Regions from separate parts of the Homo sapiens genome. Here region 2 is linked to region 1. The links are contacts of gene promoters, found by promoter capture Hi-C in blood cells and fetal thymus (Javierre and others, 2016). All regions are on one chromosome and are shown on one strand. The core of a region is centred on a gene start or on the middle of the fragment in contact, and the rest is flanking DNA. Distances in the headings are between cores, read along the strand shown. Region 1 holds the start of RASL11B (RAS like family 11 member B). Region 2 has its middle 4.8 kb from the start of DANCR.

What was found. Contacts are between HindIII fragments. The CHiCAGO score rates a contact against its expected background, and 5 or more counts as called.
Region 2: a fragment that was not itself captured here is called in contact with the fragment with the promoter of RASL11B in region 1 in 1 of 17 cell types (fetal thymus); the score reaches 6.3 in fetal thymus.

Annotation. Positions count from the first base shown.
Region 1 is chr4:52,858,498-52,864,322 of GRCh38, reverse strand. RASL11B (RAS like family 11 member B) reads right to left here and starts at 2,006. Exons shown (of 4, transcript NM_023940.3): 1 at 1,674-2,006; 2 at 999-1,055. The coding sequence starts at 1,815. LOC124900700 (a long non-coding RNA gene) reads left to right here and starts at 2,118. Exons shown (of 2, transcript XR_007058115.1): 1 at 2,118-2,239; 2 at 2,592-3,174. RefSeq lists silencers at 1,687-1,981, 1,953-2,442. The HindIII fragment of the contact is 3,261 bases long and covers 1-2,701 here.
Region 2 is chr4:52,704,293-52,710,962 of GRCh38, reverse strand. No RefSeq gene overlaps it. Among named protein-coding and RNA genes, the nearest start is that of DANCR, 4.8 kb to the left of the region's middle. The HindIII fragment of the contact is 5,324 bases long and covers 1-4,310 here.

The DNA.
Region 1 (5,825 bases), core at 757-3,256:
AAAAAACAACAGCAATTTTAACCCTATGTTAGATTTATTAAAACCAGGGCAAAGTTTGCAAGTTTTTGAAAACTTATTTATCTAGTTTTAAACAAAGTTTCCATTTTTAGAGTACTCCCTTGATGCAAATTATCTTGCTCAGCCTATGTGAGGTTTCTGTTTTCTTGAGTACTTGATTCATTCTTTGACTGTAACTTTGTATTTTGGCCGTTAGATATAATGGCTTGCTAGACAAATACTGTTAGTAAACACACAGCCAATGTTATCAGTTGGAATAAAAATGTGATATAATTATAATCAACTCTACATCAAATCAGAAGGCTGCCATGTCTTATCTTGGGATAGCTTATACAGCTCATTTCAAATAATCCCCTATAGGTACTCATATGGTCTACAGAGTTAAGCAATTTGCTAACAGAGCATAGGCAGAAAGCTCTTAAGCCTCCCCAGTGGCTATTCTTAATCATAAGGATTGAAAAATGTGTCCTCTCATTTATTCGGGAATTCTCCTCCTAAAATTCTACCATCCAGTTGTTTGTCTTTGTTAAGAAGGAGGAACTTTAGGTTTACAACTGCTCTCCTTTGGCCTTTGCTTTAAAAGGTCACCTCTGAAAGGCAGCCAGCAGAGAAGGAGAGGGGTGGGGGAAGGAGCTAGGGACTCCTTTTTTTTTTTTTTACGACTTTTGCAGGAGTGTTTTGAAGGGAGAGGTTCTTGACTACAAAGGGTGCTTCCAACTGGGGTCACTATAGTTAAAACATACCAAGGGGAATACTTTCAGGCACTTGATAAAATGATGAATGGGCTTGGAATGGAATGAGGCCAGATGGTAGTTATGGGAGGGGGGCGCCATGGAGGGCTGGGGACTGGGGAAAGTTTTAAGTGGCGGGATCCTCAGGCTCGGACTGTCACTGAAAGAACCTCCCTGGGAAGCGCTGGAAAATGGGAACCGCAGTCCTCCTGCAATGGGACAGAATTTTTCTCAAATGCATTGTCTCACCTGCATTTCTTTCATAGTCACCGATGAATCGTTTGGTGAGGAACCGGACCACCAGTGCTGCACGTCAGAAAAAAGAACGTCAAAGTGTTAACCTTGGAAGTTAGATTGTTCTCCACCCCACCCCCTGCCTGGAAAACAGTTCTCCCAAAGAAAGCCATAGATGGCCACCAAGTGAAATTCCTACCCTGTAGCTCCTTGACCCTTCTTTCCAGACAAAAAGGAGGGGGCTAGAAGGCATCGTGAATTATGGCTCTGTGCAGCTGGAAGGCTCACTGGGCCCACCCCCTCCTCTGAGCCCGGCTGAGCCACACCTAAGCCTTCCAGTAGACCCATGTCTTCCTAACCTTCAAGACCTCCCAGGGGGGCTAGCTTCACTAACTCCCCTTTCTGTGCCAGGCATTGCCAGAGGCTCAAACACCCCAAAGTTCTGATGGCGGCGGTGCCGGTGGTCCCCAGAAAGCTGCCTGGCCATTCTTGATCCTTGTTTCCCCCGTCTGTGGAAGCAGGCGGGTGGCGTAGACAACGGCTAAGCCCACTCCCAAGGGGCAGCGGCTCCCTGCGCGGGGACGGAGAGCGGTCGGGCTGCAGCTCCCACCGCTCCCCACGCCTTGTTCAGCCTCAACTCCCGTCAGGGGTCGTCCAAGACCAGACCCAGGGCTAAGCGCGACGACTCACCGGTCTTGCCCACGCCGCTGGCGCCCACCACGGCGATCTTGACCAGGCGGCGGCCGGCGGCGCCCACACAGCAGTCGGAGGCCGCGGCGTTGCCCGGCGCGGGGTACTCGGCGATGGTGCACATGTTCTGAATGAGGCGCATCGCCTCGGCTGCGGCGCACCGCGCGGGAAGGGACTGAGGGACTGGAGAATGCTAGCGCTGCGCGGGAGCGGGCGGGAGGACCCGACTGCGGGGCTCCGCGGTAAGAAATAACAACAATAAATAAGTGCAGGTACGGGCGGGGTGGGGCCGAGCGCCGAGGTTCCGCAGGGCTCAGGCTCCAGACCCAGACTGCACTCGCGCGGCGCGCCGGCTGTTTTCTCCGCGGCCGGCCCCGCCCCCTCTCCCCACAGCCAATCCCGGGGCGCCCTACACGAGGCCCCGCCCCCGGCGCCGCTCCGCGCGCGCGACGCCCCCGGAGGCGCCTGGAGTCAGTGCGGAGCCCCGTGAGGCGCGGGGAGAAGAGGCAGCGGGCGGAGGGGAGCAGCGGGTGGTCCGAGGCGGCGCAGCCCAGGGTGGGCGCCTGGTAGGTCCTGCCGCGCGAGCATGGGGCAGCTGCTGTGGCTGCGGGGCCAGGAAGAGAGCGCAGCCTCCACAGAGCCATTCCGGACCGCTGCCTCCGCCGGCTCCACAGCCCACGCGCGCACTCGCTGCAGCCCCAACCTAGGGCGTCTGCTCTGGGCGGGCCGGGAGCGGTGTTTGCTCCCCGGCTTAGTGCCGCCCGCCCTGATTTGGAGCGATTGCACTGGCTTGGGTACATCCCAGCTCATAGATTCAGCTACAGTTGGCAATCATCCGCAAAGACTCCAGCCTAAGACCTTTAGACCCCCGTAAAATGTGACATTTGAAGCAAAAATATCATCCACGTTTTATCCTAGACCCACGTTCTCTGGCTCTTGTCGACGGCGCAAGCTAACGCAAACACACATGGTCGGACGCATGCACAGCACGCCTAGAAGCGGATCAAGAAGTAATTATAGAACAAGCTTTCCAGCGCCTCACTCAGTCACACCTCCTTCAAGAGCTGTGAAATGGAAAGAAAACAGTTACTCCAGCTGCGACGTCTGAAGGGGCCCCGCACTTCGTCCCTGGTCATAAGACACCGCAAGAGTTTAGTTAAGTGGCTTGATACCAAGGAAGAGGTGGGCCCTGCACTCCTAAAATCCCAAGCTCCGGCCCCTTACAGTCTCATCTGAGAAACACATCTTCAACGGCAGGCCAAATTCCTCCTGCGAGCAACATTCTGTAGCTGCAGCTGATGGCAAGATGTCACCAGCGGCTGATGGCAAAATGTCACCAGAGTCGCGGGTTAACCACCCCATCCGCTATCCAAGGCCCTCTCCCCGCTACCCTTTCAACCTTGTCCCAGAGGCTTTTATGTTGGGGTATGGCAACAAACTCTGTGGCTTTGTGTACCCACCCACATTAAAGGCTAAAATGTGAAATAAACCAGTGCCCTTATCCGCACATGTCAGTCATCTAATTTGACCCCCTCTTCCAGCCAGAACTTAATTGACCAGGTATTTGACAGAATTTTATGATCCTCAGCCAGTTCAGACTCTGAGATGAACCTCTTGTCTACAGAGGTTTAGGTGTTTGCAGGAATGCAAGGAGAAATAGAAAGGTAATCTCAAGGTAGCAAGTTTTCTAGGATGGGCCACGTAATTAGAAAGACACACAACCTTACAATAAACATAATAAAAGGCTGACTTCTAGGGAGATCACTAGAACGAAACAGCCATTTGAGTCAGAAAGAAAAAGCATTTCCAATATGCACCATGTCTTTCTGCATGGTTTAAATCAGACTTGAATGTCACTTCTATAAAATCAAACTTTGCAAGACTGTAATTACAGGTAACCATGTACTTTTAAAATCTTTCCCCTCCAAAAAGCCTGCTATTCTATCATGCTTACATGGTAAAATAATGATGTAGGCTAAAGTACTAGTTTAACATACACACACACACACACACACACACACACACACAGAGACATGACAAAAGCTGTCAAGGGGAATTTTGCTTTGAATCATTTAGTTTCTTGGGCTTGATTTTCATTACCATAAGCCCATACAAAACCCGTGATTTTTCTGTCTGCAACGCAAAGGCTTGATTTGGTGTTCTTATTTTAGATCTAAATGATCTGGCTATGCTTTAAAGAACACAGAAAAGAGAGAAGCAAGAGAAAGATGTAAAAAAGAAAAGAGAGCTATTCAAATTCCAAATACCTAGCATATAGCCCATCTCCACTCCACCTACCTCTCCTTCTGGGACATTCATAGAGTTAAAAAGAGGAAGGAGGCAAGGCAGGAGAAGTGACGATACATAATGAGCGCTTGTTTCATTCTAGGTTGTACACAGGGGTTTTGCATTTAAAAATCTCATTTTACCTTCATAACAGTCCTATGAGGTAGGTATTACCATTACTTCTAGTTGCCGTTATCTATTGCTGCTTAGTAAACCACCCCAAACTTTAGTGGCTCGCAGTTCTGTGTGTTGACTAGGCTTAGCTGGGGAGTGCTTACCTAGGGTCTCTCATGTTGTTGCAGTCAGATGGCAGCTGGGGCTGCTATCATCTGAAGGCTCAACTAGGCTGGACATCCAAGATGGTATCTTCGTTCATATGTCTGTGTGTCAGCTGGAATGGGCAGAACAGCTGGGACTAGCTCAGGCTCTCTCACAACATGGTGACGGGCTTCCCTTTGAGTGAGCATTCTAAGAAACCAAGTAGAAGCTGCTAGTCTCTTAAGACCTACACTTGGAAATTGGCACCGCATCACTTCTGCTCTGTTCTATTGGTCAAGTGTCACAGAGCCCACCCAGATTAAAGATCAAGGGGCAGGAACATCGATCCTATCTTTAAGTGGGAATGGTGTCAAAGAATGTGTGGCCATCTGTAATTCACTACGCTTCCATTTTACAAGTGAGAAAGCAAAGTCTCGGGTTAAAAAACTCTTCCAAAGTTACATATCCTGCAAGGGACAGAGCCTTTTCTTTTTTTTTTTTTTTTTTTTTTTTTTTGTCAAGCTAAAAGAGATGAGGATGGGGAATTGAAACATGAGGAGGGGTTTGGGAAGAAAAGAAAGAAGTATTTTGCCAAGGTTCAATTTTACCTCAGCATCTGGAGTTTCTAGCACTTCCTTTGATCTTAAGAGGTTTAGCCCAGACAATTCAGTCCCTGGAAGCCCTTAGAATGCCAGAATATGAATTCAATAAATATTTATTGGATGTCTGGGCTATGTGTATACCAGACATTATGCTAGGTATTGAGTCTACAGTGGCAAATAAGAAATGCAACCTTTGCCATCCCTGCAGCTACATTTAGCATGAGAGACTGAAGTGAATGAGCAATTTCAATACAGTGTGAGAAAACACTTTGATAGGGAAAATTCAGGAATTACAGAAGCACAAACTAGGACTAAAAACCTGGGTTGTGGCAGTCAAGGAGGGGGTGGTGAAGGAGTTGAGAAGTTTGTGTGTTGTGTACAGTGTGCATGTATGTGTGTGCATGTACATGGGAGTATGGAGCAGGGAGTTAGGAGGGGGCAAGATGGGTTAGTTCGCAAGAGAATAGCACTTGCCAATAGGTGCTCAGTAAATAGTTGTGGATTATAAATGAAAGCATAAGTGAATATAGCAAAGGCCTCACATTGAGAAAATGAATTAAAGGAACGGAGGATAGTTCCTGATGGGTGAACAGAGAGAAAAGCCCTGGTGATTTCTGTGGAGGAGCCCTCATATTGATAAGAAAAGCTCCAGAAGTTGCCTTGGTGCTCCCTTCTTCCATGGGAACATGCCCGCATGGAAGCCAAATGAGCTGCTCCTCTGCCCACATCACCAGGAGTTGCTCCCAAATCAGCCCTCTCTGAACATCCAGGCCTTGAGCAAGAACCAGACTTTATTTTTTCTTGAGACTTTTGTCAACTCTGCTTGTTTAGATCCAGTAAACAGACACTCTTTAGTGGTTTTAAGCAGAAGACGATTTAATACAGGAAATTACCTGCTTTCAATGTCTTTGGAAGGGCTGGAGTAGCAGGCTCTAGGCTGGACCTGCAGAAATGGCTCCCAGAGCAGCACTGCAGAACTGGCCCACGCAGGAAGCTGCTGCCTCTT
Region 2 (6,670 bases), core at 399-2,898, 150 kb after region 1:
TGATTAAGGTGGTTTTGGTGGGAAGAAGAAGTTGAGTAAAATTTACCAATAAACCCTAGCACCTAGTCATCATCTTGCAGATATTCATAGGATCTTGTTGAAATTGGAGAGTGAATACCAGTTTGTTGTCCCTTCACCTTTCTCAAGAGTCTTCCAAACATATCTCTAGTTGGAATCTGTTCTTTTTATAGTCCCTTTGGATAGCTGAGAGATATTACCTTTCCTTTAACTATGGCAATGCATGTGGTCAGGCAACATGGGAAAATATAGGAAAAGAGAAGTAAATCTCCTTAGTAAAGAGACTAATGCAGGAATTCAGCAGCAACCTAGCAGGGGCTGGGGGTAGTTGTGCAGAATGTCTTCCCTCCTCCCCAAATCAGGGGATAAAAATGGGAAGGAATTATGAAAGAATTATATTTGTGTTTGATTTAAGAGAAATTCACCTTAATCTGAAGGCTTCACATTTCTGGCCAAATACCTCAATTCAATGAACTTACAAACAGTTCATTCGAAATAGTAAAACTGTTCACTGGGCTTAGAGGAGAAATGTCTATTAAATACAGAGACAATAGAACAAAATAAACTGATTTATAATTGCTTTTGAGTTAGGTTCAAGATAATATATATTTGGTACTAAAAATCCTTATAATGCAGTTTAAAGAGAATTGTTTCAATTGGGTTTATTATTAGGCCTAATTTTTTTAGAGAAATTAGTATGTCTAATCAATCCTTCTTTCTTTCTTTTCTTTCTTTCTTTTCTTTCCCTCCCTCCCTCCCTTCCTTCCTTTTCTTTTCTCTCTCTCTCTCTTTCTTGCTCTCTCTCTCGTCTCTCTCCCTCTCCCTTTCTTTTCCCTTTGACAGGGTCTTACTCTATCACTCAGGCTAGAGTGCAGTGGCACAATCATAGCTCACGGGTCAGGCTCCAACTCCTAGGCTTAAGTGATCCTCCCACCTCAGCCTCCCAAAGCATTGGCATTACAGATGTGAGCCACCACGACTGGCCAATCTGTCCAATTTGAGGGAGTTCAGTCTCTCCAAATTTAATCTGTCGGAAGTTGAATAAAGGGACCTAGAAGAATACCCACCAGCCCTCCAGATATTCTCAGCTGGATTTCCCAGAGACACCACAAAATCACTCTTTTGGCCCAGAATTTATTCTCTTCTTCCACCCCTCCACTTCCTTTTTGTGTCCTCTGTCTTGAAGAATAACAATTCCTTAGCCCAGCTGTCCAGGACTTAGCGCAAATGCTTTCCTTTCTCAGTCTCCTCCTCCATTTCTCAGCCTCCTACTTCCTCATCTTCTTCCATGCGGGCAGTTCTTCCTATTGACCACCATGACTCTGCCTCTTCTTTCCAGCCCTTGCTTGTACTTTAGTTCTAGCTCCATCATTTACTTTCAGCATCATCCACTGCAGTAGCCTCCACCTTCATTCAGCTTCCCTGTCTCCAGTGTTCCCTTCCCCATGAATTCTTCCACACTGCTGTCATCTCCATTGGAAATTGTTAAATGGCTCTTTACTGCCACCAGAAACAAAACCAACCTCCACCTATCTACTTCCTCCTCTCACTTCCCACATACCTATTATAATCCAACCATGCTGAACTAATGGCAGTCCCCTGAATGCTGTCCAGCACTCTCCCATACAACTTTCTGCAGTGATGGAAATGTTCTATATCTCTGCTGTCCAGTATGGTAGCCACATGTGGCTATTGAGTACTTGAAATGTGACTAGCACAACACAAGACCTGGATCTTAAACTTCATTTACTTTTAACTAATTTAAATTTAAATAGTCATGCTGGGCCTGGTGGTGGTATGCCTATAATCCCAGCTACGTGGGCAGAAGTCTGAGGTGGGAGGATCCCTTGAGGCCAGAAGTTTGAGGTTGCAGTGTGCTCAGACAGTGCCTGTGAATAGCCACTGCACTCCAGCTGCCGCAATATAGCAAGACTCCATCTCTACAGAAAAAAAAAATTAGCCAAGCATGGCAGAACAGGCCTGTAGTCCCAGCTACTCAGGCAGCTGAGGCAAGAGGATCACTTGAGCTCAGGATTCAAGGCTGCAGTGACCTATGATGGCACTACAGCACTCCAGACTGGGTGACAGAGCAAGACATCTAAGATAAATAAATAGATAAAAATAAAAGTCACATGTGGCTGGTAGATACTACATTGAACTGCACAATAGTTTACATCCTTGCTTCTCAAAGCGTGGTCCATCAGCCTGGGCATTCCCTGGAAACTTGTAGTAATGCATAATCTCAGGCCTCATCCCAGATCTGCTGATTCGGAATCTATATTTCAACAAGATCCCCAGGTGATCTGTATGCACATTAAAGTTTCAAGAGCCACAGCTCTAATAAGCTCTTGCTTCCTTGCCTTTGCATGTGGTGTTCTCTTCGTCTGGGCTGCCTGTCACCTGTTCTTTTTTCCTTAACTCCTACTTATCCCTAGACCTATCTACACTCACAACCTGCTGTTAATATGGTAATCCAGAGGGTAGGGGATGAAGGATATGGGGGAGAGGAGTGAGAGGGAAGGAGAAAATATCTATGATAAAACCACTTGTATCTTGTAATCTTAAATAACTATATGTATGTAGCTATATAATATAAATACATACATACTATGTATATATTTATAGTATAGTATGTATATATGTATAGTATTCTATGTATATACATGTACAAGTATAGTTTGTGTGTGTGTGTGTGTGTGTGTGTGTGAAAATATGGTTACTACAATGTCAGTGGTATTTCTCTCAAGGTGATGGGATTTCATGTGTCTTACTTTCTAAAAATATTTTTGAGGTATCATTCAAATTCTTTACAAAGAGCATGTATTACTGATATAATAATTTTCATTACAGAAAACAAAATAAGGGCTATATTAGCCTTTTGTAAGTAACTTCAAGAACACGATATCGGAATAAAGTATAGCGTTTTACAAAAAAGGAGAGCCCCCACCTTCCACAGTTAGAGACACTCCCTTGTCTACAACACAAGAGCGGGCAGTAGGCATGGCATAGGCAACAACCAACCTGAAAGCAGAAGAATGATCTCTTGTGATGCCTCCACTGCTGTCTCCTGTGTCTACCCTCCCACCCCCACAGCAGACATGGTCCTAGCACCACGACAATCACCTCTTCTCCATCCCCTGCCTGACTCCTAGCTAGGGCTGGAGTCTGAAAAGGGGCCTTAGGTGTACAGAGAAGGTCACCTGGAATCACTAGAAGCATCTGCAGAAGTATATGGATATGTTGGGTGACTCAGATGACATCTCGTTTGGTCCTTAGCATCAAGGTTTTGTTCTATCAAATATTCTATTAAGAACGAATGTTTTCATTTTTTGGCTATTGTATTTCTTTTCTAAATTTTGGCAATTTTTTCTTTACTGAAAAAAAGATGACAATTACCTGAGAGGTTATTTTAAATTCATGGCAAAATGTGTTTTGCTGAGCTATGGGATGCAATTTCTGCAGATCTTAGTGTGCTCAGCTGTGGAAGTCAGTTATAGGGTATAGAGTTCTGGTGGTAGGGTAAGGCCCAAAAAGCCACCAGAATGAATAGAGGAGACAACATAGCCTGGAGCCAAGACATAGTTTATATTCTGCACAGTAACTAATTTGCAAAAATAACAGGATGTTGTGAAATTTGATTAAGCAGCAAGGTGAGGGAGGCATTTTGGGGGGTTAGATCAAATTATTATTATTAAGGGTATTGTACAAGTTCCAATTCAATTCTAAAGATAGAAGGAAATTTATATTCTTTATTTTAAAACAAGTTGGCTTATCTAAATAAGTAACAAACTCAGTGTTTTATTTTATTTATTTATTTATTTATTTATTTATTTATTTATTTTGAGACGTGGTCTTGCTGTGTCGCTAGAGCTGGAGTTCAGTGGCACGATCTGGGCTCACTGCAACCTCTGCCTACCAGGTTCCAGCAATTCTCATGCCTCAGCCTCCTGAGTAGCTGGGATTACAGGCGCCCGCCACCACGCCTGGCTAATTTTTGTATTTTTAGTAGAGACGAGTTTCGCCAAGTTGGCCAAGATGGTCTCAATGTCTTGACTTCGTGATCCACCTGCCTCAGCCTCCCAAAGTGCTGGGATTACAGGCATGAGCCACTGTGCCCGGCCCAAAATTCAGTGTTGCAAATCATCCTTTTGTACATGTATGATCATATTTATAATTCTATATCTATTTATCAATCTACTACTGGCAGCACCCACCTCATGTATTGGCGGCTCCAGAGGTGTCATGTGACTTGGATACCGGAATGGAGCCAGCCTTTGTGAGGTGTGAAAGCTTATACAATTTGGGTGGTCCTTCTTCTTAAAAGAAACAATGCAAAATTTTACAAAAATATGCAACCCCATGGACACATTGTTAGAGCCCCTCTTGGGCCCTAGGTGAGGCCCATGCAAATAAAGAAATTGACACCTAAACTTTACTTCAACAGTTTTAGGGTAAATCTACCTTGGCTGCTCAGATGCTCTAGAAAGGGGAATTGTTGGCTATCCTTTAATACCATCCTTAGCACAGCACAGCTAAGGAGGAAACTCCATGCTTACACAAGGGCTTCTTCCTTAATCATCAGCAACGGCCCAGTTTACTGTACACCTAGTATTTGTGCCAGGCACTGTTCTAAGCTTTTTTTTTTTTTTTTTTTTGCATTGTCTCTTTTGATTCCTCATACTAACACTGAGATATATGTACTAGATGATCTTCATTTTACAGATAGGAAACTGAGACCCAGAGATATTGAATAACTTGCCCAAGAAGAGGTACCCACTGAGTGCTGAAAAACAGGCAGAGGTGGGAATGGGTTGCCAGCTGTTGAATTCCTGGGTCTGTGCTATCTAAGAACAGTAGCAGAAAGAGAGGCCCAAGCCACCAAACTGAGATTCAACAACCTGACCTCTGCTGTGGGGTGAGCTTGTTGAAAGCAGGTAGGACTATAAGTGACCTGATAGGTCACTAGGAGAAAAATCCAGTTTCCAGAACTAGACAGAAGGTCTCAGCCAAATACGGGGAGTTGGGGGTAGGGAAGCTTGCTTCTGAGCCCCAGGAACCTCCACTATATAACATAAGATTGGTTTTAGAGATTCAGAGATGAGGGGTCAATGGGCAGAAAGGTTTCCTGACGTCCACAAACTCAAAATAAAAATTGCCATTTGTACACTCTGAGCAGCCACAAAGCTCTCTGGACAATAAAGCTGCTGAGAAGTCATCTAGGAACAGTTTAATGCCACCTTTCTCCACCCTCTTTGGGATAAATATACATCACATGCTCGTCCTCTTTTTTAGTCTTGCACACAAACACATTAATCCCAATGTCTTCTTCAGACCTGCATTTAAGTCACTTTTTTTCCCCAATGTTGGAAAGCCCTAATAACAAAACTAAACCCCCCTTAGTTCTACCCTCTCTAATTTAATTTCATTTGCGTGGTAAAAAACCAGCATATTTATCGTTGATAAATATCAGAAGAGAGCTTCAGATATCCCTGTATAAAGGGAGAGGGAAGTAGTACATGTTAATAGTGAAATGGAGTTAACCAAGAACTTGAAAACAACTTGTATTTGCAATTTATTTGTGCTTTTTAATTTCTACTTTTTGTATTTATTGATGATTATTTGTGATTTATTATTTATTCATTGCGTTTTGTTTTTGTTTTTGTTTTTGTTTTGAGAAAGAGTCTTTCTCTGTCGCGGAGACTGGAGGGCAGTGGTGCCATCTCGGCTCACTGCAAACTCTGCCTCCTGGGTTTACGCGATCGCCTGCCTCAGCCTCCCAAGTAGCTGGGATTACAGGGAGGAACCCCCACACCCAGCTAATTTTTGTATTTTTAATTGAGACGGGGTTTCACCATATTGGAAAGGCTTGTCTCAAACTCCTGACCTCAAGTGATCCGTCTGCCTCAGCCTCCCAAAGTGCTGAGATTACAGGTGTGAGCCATCGCACCTGGTCATTTATTTATTATTTACAGCCCAGTTTAGTCCAAAAAGGATTTGAGTGTAATTTACACAAATACATTACAATGAGATTTTCAAAGAACAGTGAGAAAGTTGGAGTGCAGGGAAAATATGATTAAAGTCCAGGGCTAGTACACAAAATAAAACCATGGGGAATACTTGCTGGAGGAAGGCCAAAAATTTTGCTCTGAGCTGCCTGGCAGTCAATGTAAAACATCAGAAAATAGAAAAAAAAAATGACACTCAAGAGAAACACAAATATTCCTGAAAGAAATTTCTTCCGTGGGTCTTTATAAAGAGGGTACTATAACCAACCTCCTCAATACCGATAATCTAAAGAGAATAGTTTTTTACTTGGAAAATAGGTGTGTTAAAAAAAGAAAAAAAAAGAAAAAAAATGTTTTTAATCTCTCTAGCTTTTGGGTGTCCAGGATTTTTGATGCCTAGCCAAGATGATTTGCTTGCTTGAACTCAATTAAAACAAAATGTTTTTCAAGTCCCAATTATCATTTGGCAAGAGAGTTATCTGTCATGCAGGTGAAACTTGGGGAAGAAATTGGACTTTTAACTGATTGTGAAGCAGATAGGCTACACTCTGCTGTAATAGTAAAATCAATGGCTAAAAACAGATGGCATGTCCCATAACAAAGATGTGGTAATTTGGGTTAGTTCCCTGGCCAAAGATTCAGCATTT